Regions from separate parts of the Homo sapiens genome. Here region 1 is linked to region 2. The links are contacts of gene promoters, found by promoter capture Hi-C in blood cells and fetal thymus (Javierre and others, 2016). All regions are on one chromosome and are shown on one strand. The core of a region is centred on a gene start or on the middle of the fragment in contact, and the rest is flanking DNA. Distances in the headings are between cores, read along the strand shown.

Region 1 (4,107 bases), core at 1,246-3,745, 940 kb after region 2:
AAAGGCTGGGGAGTGAGTGAGACAAGGGGCTGGATCAGCTGAGACTGGCAGATCCACTTCCAAGACCACTTCTTCTGCCAAACTGCCTGGCACTTTGGTGGGAAACCTGGAAGGGTGGGCTCAGCTGGGACTGGCACCTAAGCACCTACATGTGGCCTCTCCACTATGGTGGCCTCAGGGTAGTAGTCAGACTTCTTACAATGTTCTTGCAGCAAAAGCTACATGCCTTTATGACCTGGCCTCAGAAGTCCTATAATGAACATTCATTTCCCATTCTCTTTTGGTTGAAGTAGTCACAAGCCCCCCCAGATTCAAGGGGAGGGGCTGTAGATCACACCTCTCCGTGGGAGGCATACCACAAAGGCCATGTTTTAAAATCACCACACTGGCATTATTTCCTGATTCTAGATGAGAGATGGTAATTCAGTGGAGATTAAATGATTTGTCAAGGAATAGTAACTGGGATAGTTAGTGGGGAAGGGGGCTTAGGGGAGGAGAATGACTTTTACCATAATTCTGACTCTAAATTCTTGCTCTTTCAATTAGTATATATTATATCAGCTAACATATACTTGCTAATATGTAAAAGTTCAAAGAAAAAAAACTAACTGGTTTTGAATATATTCAGTAACTTCCCTAAATAGAAACACAAATCTAGAAGAATAAGGTTTGCATTTATAAGCCCTTGCATTTATAAGCGCTTGCATAAAAACTTCATATTTTAAGGAGGTCCAGGGATGAGTGCAATCCTGAGATTGGTCAGACAGCAACTTTGTATCATTTTTCTCACAAAAAAAGATCTCTGAAAATGTCCCCGATACTTAACTGTGATTTCATTTGTTCTCTAGGAAAATCTCACCTGGCCATTGTCCAGCGGGTGAATAATGAGGGAGAAGGGGACCCTTTCTATGAGGTGATGGGCATTGTCACGCTGGAGGATATCATAGAGGAGATTATCAAGTCGGAGATCCTGGATGAAACTGATCTCTACAGTAAGTGCACGGCCTTGGCTGTTCTCCAGGGTCATCTTATTTTCCTCCAAGACTCTCAGGTAAAGCCTCATTTGATTTATAGAAAGGGTGTCAGGGCAAACCCTGTGCCCTGATGTGTGTCAGCCACCTATGCCAGGTGCTGCTGTGGCAAGATACCCTAGTTGGAATCACTTCTGAGTCACTGGGAACATGCTAGCTAAGTGTTTATCAGGAGGGAACCTTCAGGAACTGAGCCAAGACTATGAAAAGGAGACCTCCCAGCCTTTGGATAGAAACGGGACTACAGGAAACACAGTGTTCCCAGGACGGTGCCCAGAGGCCTCTCTGCCCTTGTTTCTGTCCCCTGTGTTCTTGTTTGGTTGCTTCATCCACCTAGATGCAGACCCCAACAGGGGTTCCACTCACATCAGAACATCGCAGTGAGCAGTGGAGACTGTCATGAGATTGCCTACTCACAGCCTAAGCCAAAAACTGAATACTCCTTCTTACAAACTTCCCTGTCCTCTTCTGCCTTTCAGCCCACCACCCTGGGTTTCTGTTCTCTCCCTGCCACCAGCATCCCTGCTCTTGTCTCTGCTTCCTTCTTTCTGGTCTGCTGCCCCTCCTAACTCCCTCACTCAGGAACAATACAGACTTTTCTATGCAGATGTGAGTACTTTGGGTTACTGAACCTTATCAAAGCTTTGCTTGCAAACATTACAAAGGCATGCTTTGTCTTTAGGATTGGAATGTTATCTAAGTCCATGGGAGTCCCTAGGCTGGGAAGTGTTTCCTCCTGAGAATTTCATCTCATGGAATAGCCATCCTTTTCTTCCTTGCAGATAACTCGTTTCAGACTTTGGTCCTTAGTTTGTGAGATGCGGCCTTTCAGAAACTGGCTCCTGGTAGAAAGAGCTTTGATACCATAAGGCAGTGAGCAGTGCAGAAAGAGTGCCTTCCTTTTAGACAAAGAAGAGATCAACTCTAAAAGGTGGGCCAGGCCTTGGCAAAGACAAGCAAGAGAGTCATGGCACCTCCCTCCAAGAGCCTGGGCACTGCTGTGCTTGCCCGGACCAGGCGTGTCTTCCTCACATGAGGAACGAGCTCGGAAATGTCCTCTCCCTCCCCCACCTCTGCCTGCCACTCTTGATTTAGAATTCTCAGGTGTAGCCTGGGCAACATGGTGAAACCCCATCTCTACAAAAAATACAACAGTTAGCCAGGCGTGGTGACGTGTGCCTGTAGTCCCAGCTACTTGAGAGGCCAAGGTGGGAGGATCACTTGAGCCTGGGAGGTCCTGGCTGCAGTGAGTGGAGATTGTGCCACAGCACTCCAGCATGGGAGCCTGGGTGACAGGGCAAGACTGTCTCAAAAAAAAAAAAAAAAAAAAAAAAAAAAAAAAAATCCCAGGTGTCTCAGATAAACTAGTGAAGCCATTCACACTAAGGTGTTAGGTACTGATAATAGTCTAAATGAGTAAGCTCCTCCCAGGGCACTTGTTTGAACAACCTTAAGGCTTCCAACACACACTATTGAAATCTAAGGAGAAGGGGGCGATGAGAGGAATGATTTCCTAATAATGCCATGTTAAGTGGCAATCTGATGGGGGAGAGGGGGGCTATTTAGGCAAACTTATCATACAAATCAGAAAGTTGCTCACTAGTGAGAGCGAAAGAGCTGGGCTAATAGCCTGTATTTTGCTACTCTTTTGCTGAGTGATCCTCTTTCTACAGGAGCAGGTTAGGGTCTTTCTACCTATAAATAGCTGCTGGCATGATTCCCTAAGAGCTATGAAAAGGCCCAGAAGCCAGGGATACTGTCTTTCTTCTTGCATGACCCTGACCTCTTACGTGATCTGGACACCTGGGTCTGGGTCTGCCCATTGTGACTTGAGCAAAAGGAGTGTCAAAGCAGGGGCCAGATGACTGTGAAGGCCCAGAGTCAGAGCGGGCCATGGAAGAGCTGCACCGGCAGGAGGGCACTTTGACCCTTCTAGAAGGAAACCCAAAAGCAGGCCCCAAAAGGAGAGGGGGCACACCAGGGAGCCGGATTCTGGGGCCTTATTTTCCTGCCACAGGGGTTCATTCCCTTTCATTCTCACTGCATCCACTCAGCTTGCACCAGACGTTCCCCCACAGCCCTGTTTCTCTTTAGGCGAAGTTTGGAGAAAACCCAAATCCCTCTCCCTGTTCCCCTTAGTGCAGGTAAGATGGGCTAGCAGTTTCAAAATTTTACTCAAAACTCAGGGAAAGCAAAAGAGAAAGAACCAAAGAAAACATTTCCTCTACCAAAAAAAAAAAAACAAAAAAAAAAGCGGGGGCCGGGGGGGAAGTAGATATATTTAGACAAGCTTTAAAAAGAATGAGAACAAATTAAATTGGAAAAAGCAAATGTTTTCAACCAATAATTACATGCCTGATACATAGGCTCTTGGGAGGTACCAGACCCTGCCTGAGGCCCCCATCCAGAAAACCCACCTTTAGAGATTATAGGTCCAATCTTATTTCTTCTCCTCTCTTCTTCCCTATATTTCCCCTGATTCCCTCCCAGTGGAGGGACTGGGGTTGAAGCAGGGAAATTGTGAAATAAGAGGTGGTGGCCGCCCTCCTTCCTTGTGTGGCATGCTTCAGGTACCACTCAGAGCATGGTTCACATAAGCAGCAGGAGACTAGGTGAGGCCAGTTCAGGGCAAAGGAGGGGGACAGAGTCAGAAATTCCCTGGGCCCCTGCAACCCTCTTGATACTAAGAATGCAGGTCCCTTGTGTGTGTATGACTTTGGGTAAAAGCATTCTCACAGGTAGTTTCCAGTTGGAGTCTCATAATTAATTGCACAAGATGAGTATGAGAGCTATATTAAATATTATTAGCCTCCTTGTACAGATTAAAATAAAAACTCTAATGCTTAGAGAGATTACATGGTAAGTAGGGGAACCAGCCCCAGAACCCCAGACTTGGGTACCCCAAGCCTGCTTTCCCCTTTTTCTACTATACACCCCCTAAGTGTGGAAAACACTGAAATGATGGCAGTCTCCCATTGTCTATCCCTCACCAACATCCTTCTACTTCCTGGGTGATATTGTGATGTCACCCATAGTTGACACTGCAGAAATGTTCTATCTGTCCCCTGTGATTCTG
Region 2 (4,410 bases), core at 1,888-4,387:
AGAGAGTCATCAGCTGCCCTGAGCCTTGAGTTTCTTCACATGGGGAACAGAGGGTGCCAGGGACCCTGCAGTGTGGCAAGGATGAGATAAATGGGAGCTATTTGTCTTTTAATTGGTGCTGATGATCGATCTTGGAAAACTCATAGTCTTCCAGGCAACTGGGTCCAGTTCAATCATGGCAGACCTCAAATGAGTAAGGTCAAGGATCCAAAGCACAAGACCCCCTCCCAGTGACCACCCTCAAGTCCTGGCTGAGCCCTCCTTGGCTTCTGGTGACACCTCTGTTCCCTTGAAGAGGACTTCAGCTGCGGGCTCTGCTAATCCCCAGACCTGCCTCAGGGGCCCCATAGCAGGCGCCTGGGCCCTTGAGGAGCTGCTCTGGGCGTGGGCTCTGCAGCTGCCTGCATCAGGCAGTGTTGGTTGGGTGGATGTGCTGACCTCTGGGAGACACCTCCCGCCCTCAGAATGCTCGTCACCAGGTATGGGGCCAGGAATCTCCATTTTAACAAGCCCCCTCAGTCACTCTCAGGCACATTTAGTCAAATGACTAAATGAGATTCATCTTCAAGGTGGCGGCCAGGTGCCAGTGTGCCTTCAGGGACTCAGAGGTAACCCTTGTCTCAGAAGATGCCGTTCTGTTCCTCACTGAGGCCCAAGATGCCTTTAAACCAGGCTTTATGGTATGTTTAGCAACTAAAGAAATCATGTCAAGGAAAAGCTCACACACTGAGACTCACTCGCACTTGTAGGCAAGTCACCAAGGCAGCTGGTGACCTAAAGTCAACCTTCCCCATTAGGAGACAGCAGGGTGAGCTGTGGCTGAGCACGGAAGGAGGCAGGGGGCTTCTCTGAGGCTAAGTGAGGTGCTGGAGATGGCTCCCACCAGCCCGGGGAGTTTGTGAGCCGGCTGTCAAACAGCCATTGATATAAACTAAATTATATAAGCTTACAATTAAATAAATTAAAAACAAAGGTAATAAATACTCAAAACACACTACCTCCTATTTGTTTTACTACATTTGACTGTTGCCCATGCCCTGGCAGTCACTGGCCTCTATGTACATATCTGCATGGTGGACACACTATACAATGATGTGCTACTGGGTATCTCTCCTAAATCACATTGAGCAACCTCATCTTGGTAACAGAAAAGGCTATGGTGGGAGTATTTACACCACTGTCATCAGCAAATATTACACAGAAGGGCTGAATTTATTTTTTGTGGTCAGGCTTAAGAAAGTGATGGGAAAATGCTAATAATGCAGATTAAACCTAACAGTGTTAGCTGTTATAGCATGAATAAATAGCACAAAAATTGAAGGAAATATTCTAGTATTAGAACAATATTATCTTATTTGAGTAACATCATTCCTGTCATTTAAAGAAGGAGGCCGGGCGCAGTGGCTCACACCTGTAATCCCAGCCCTTTGGGAGGCTGAGGCAGGTGGATCACAAGGCCAGGAGTTTGAGATCAGCCTCGCCAACATGGTGAAACCCCGTCTCTACTAAAAATACAAAAATTAGCCGGGCGTGGTGGTGGGCGCCTGTAGTCCCAGCTACTCGGGAGGCTGAGGCAAGAGAATCGCTTGAACCCAGGAGGCGGAGGTTGCAGTGAGCCGAGATTGCGCCGCTGCACTCCAGCCTGGGCAACAGAGCAAGACTCCATCTCAATAAATGAATAAATAAATAAAATAAAAATAAATTTTAAAAAATAAAGGAGTAAGGTTGGGACATAAATCTTTGTTGTTTCATTTGTTTCACGATCATCCTACTCTTTACAGAAAATATGGAGCACCGTTCTCTTTGGAGCTACCCTCATTTGTCATTTGCAACTATAGGTTGGCTACTGAGTTTGGCAAAAATCAAAGAAAGCCTTTGGTAAGAATCACTCGGGTAGACTGCATTTAAATTGAGAGTATTGTATCTTTATTTGTAAAATTGTGTGCAGTGTATCTTTTATTTCAATATTTAAAATAAGCATGTGTATATGTGTATATATATGTACGTAACACATATACATATATATACACATATATGTGTGTATATATACATATATATACATGTACACACACACATACATCACACATTTTTCCCTGGAGAGGTGAGTGTTGAGTATCTACCAGCTCGCAACTGCTCTAGTACATATGAAAATGAAGGCATGCCCTCAAAGCTGCATGTTGAGTGCCGTCTGCTTTCGGTCCCGTCATTATCTCTGTATAGACCCAGTTGGCAATCATGCATTTGGGGCCCTCTGCAAGTGTGAAAGGAAGGCACTAAGGAAAGACCACCTGGTCCTGGGCCTGCCTCTTCCCCTAGCACCCAGTAGACTGTGATACTCTGAGCCCAGGGGTTGGCAAAGTGTGGCAGATCACTGCAGATCCCCAAATGTCCCAGAGCTGCAAGGCAATGGGGTCCATCTCCCTCTGCAGACACGCAGTAGGAACTCTGGGACTCAGTTCTGTTTTATCCTAACTGGCCTTTATGAAATGACTGCAGTTTCTTGTGACGAGGGGTGGCCTCAGTGGTAAGGTAGTGGTGACCAGAACTCAGGGCACTGAGGGGGCGGGGTGCTGGATTTCACTTGTCTGTTGGCCCAGGGCTCTTTCCAACCCTTACAAACCATAGGCTGAGAATGTGGTGGAAACTAGGTCACTTTGCAAGAGATATAGGGAAACCCCTGAGCTCACCTAGTCTTCCTGTCATTCTCCATGGGAAGATCCAAGCCCAGAGAAGGCAAGCATTTGCCCCAGGCCACACAGCAGAGCCAGCACCGGAATCCCAGGTGCCTGCCTGCCAGATGGAAGGGCTTTCCATTGCAGCCCCTGCTAGCGTATAAACTTCTGGCTGGGTTATGCCAGAGGAGAGAGCAGTGGGGCTTGGCTCCCCCTCCCCCTCCCCACCAAGCTCTGAGCAGGGCTGTCTTCCCGCCCCTCAGCTCTGGCCCGGCCTGCTTTACCACTTTACCTGCTCCTATCACCACCGCATCATACTCAGGCTTCAGACCTCCCCTGGCTTCCGTGTTATCTCGTCTCCACGCCGGGAAGGGAGAGGCGGCCACAGCCTTGCAGAGACCTCGGCCACTTGCAGCCATTTCTGCCCCAGGCTGGGCCTTGCTAGGCAGGGAGTTTGCTAGCGATTGGCTTTTGTGCTGCCCTAGGCACGGGGTGGAGCAGGGAGGAAGCAGGAAGAGGAGGAGCTGCAGTCCCCCTCCAGGCCCCCTCCACCATGCATTCTTGGCCACAGGCCAGCCTCCTGCTGCCCTGGGGCTGTGCTGGGCCGTCGGGAGTGTTGCCTATTAACCAGGCGGTGTCACCTCCAGGATGCAGGGGATAATGGCAAAACTGACAATCCACTGGGGTTCCTATGTCAGGCTGGCATTGTGCTGAACCCTGTAGGCAAAACTCCCCATTTTACAGATGAGGGCGCTGAGGCTGCGGGGTTAGGGAATGAGTGGTGGAGGCAGAGTGGAGCTCGAAAGGGCCCTCTCCTCCCCTGTGCATCTACCTTCTCAGTCAGAACTGAAACGCCTGGGATGGCAAGTGCTCGTGTCAGACTCTGCTCCAACTCCATGCTGAGTCTGCCAGTGCAGAGTGGTGATGCCTCTACGCCCACAGGAGGCGCCCAGGGCGGCCATCTAGCGTCACCACGACCAGGGCCTTCAGACACCGCAGAGGCAGCTGTGTCTGTCGCTGAGGAGCACTGGAGTCCTCTCCTAAATGCTCAAACACAAACCCACAACGAGGGCTTAGGGGCAAGTTCGCTGTCTGTAATTCTCTGGTGTTTTAGTTTTGAAGGCCTGGCCAGTTCTCCTCTTTTGGCACCTTGCCCATTTTCCAAGAATCCCCAAGGATTCGAGGTCACATCTGTAAATACCTCCAGCTAAAGTTCTTTCTGACCCTCCCTTAGGCCTGCCTTGAATTAGGAGCCCCTTTGTTCTCTGCCCATTACTTAGCAGAGTGTTCCCCTAGGAGGAAAAAACCCCTTGGAGCGGAGAGTTCCTGCACTGCTCTGATATCGCAGTGTGACGGAAACCTGCTATTGGTAACGAATCTCAGAACTGGGAGAGTATGTGGAGATGATCCTAAGAGGGGGTTCCGAGGACCCCTCCACACACCATGGACAGTTACCCCGCATGTGAGCATCTCTGCTAAGATCTGATTCAGGATGTTCACTCCTGTGTTATTTATTATATAGAAAGATCAAGGGGACTGGTTAAACTAGACATATCACATCCAGCCGCTGCTAAAAACTAAAGGGAAATAGTAGGTGACAAAAGCAGGGGTCCTGAACAGTGGTGGGCTCAGGGGATTGGAGTTTTTTCCTTTATGTTTTTCTGTATTTTCCACAATCCACGCTTTTCATTGCCATTCCATCAGATGATGTTAAGGAGGAACACAGATCCAGTCACCT

What was found. Contacts are between HindIII fragments. The CHiCAGO score rates a contact against its expected background, and 5 or more counts as called.
Region 1: a fragment that was not itself captured here is called in contact with the fragment with the promoter of PYROXD2 in region 2 in 2 of 17 cell types (M0 macrophages and M1 macrophages); the score reaches 5.5 in M0 macrophages.

The regions. Positions count from the first base shown.
Region 1 is chr10:99,356,664-99,360,770 of GRCh38, forward strand. CNNM1 (cyclin and CBS domain divalent metal cation transport mediator 1) reads left to right here. Exons shown (of 11, transcript NM_020348.3): 2 at 849-992. Among named protein-coding and RNA genes, the nearest start is that of CNNM1, 29 kb to the left of the region's middle. RefSeq lists enhancers at 1,299-1,966, 1,967-2,633. The HindIII fragment of the contact is 1,648 bases long and covers 1,672-3,319 here.
Region 2 is chr10:98,412,045-98,416,454 of GRCh38, forward strand. PYROXD2 (pyridine nucleotide-disulphide oxidoreductase domain 2) reads right to left here and starts at 3,138. Exons shown (of 16, transcript NM_032709.3): 1 at 2,965-3,138. The coding sequence starts at 3,091. HPS1 (HPS1 biogenesis of lysosomal organelles complex 3 subunit 1) reads right to left here. Exons shown (of 20, transcript NM_000195.5): 20 at 4,154-4,410. The HindIII fragment of the contact is 3,850 bases long and covers 944-4,410 here.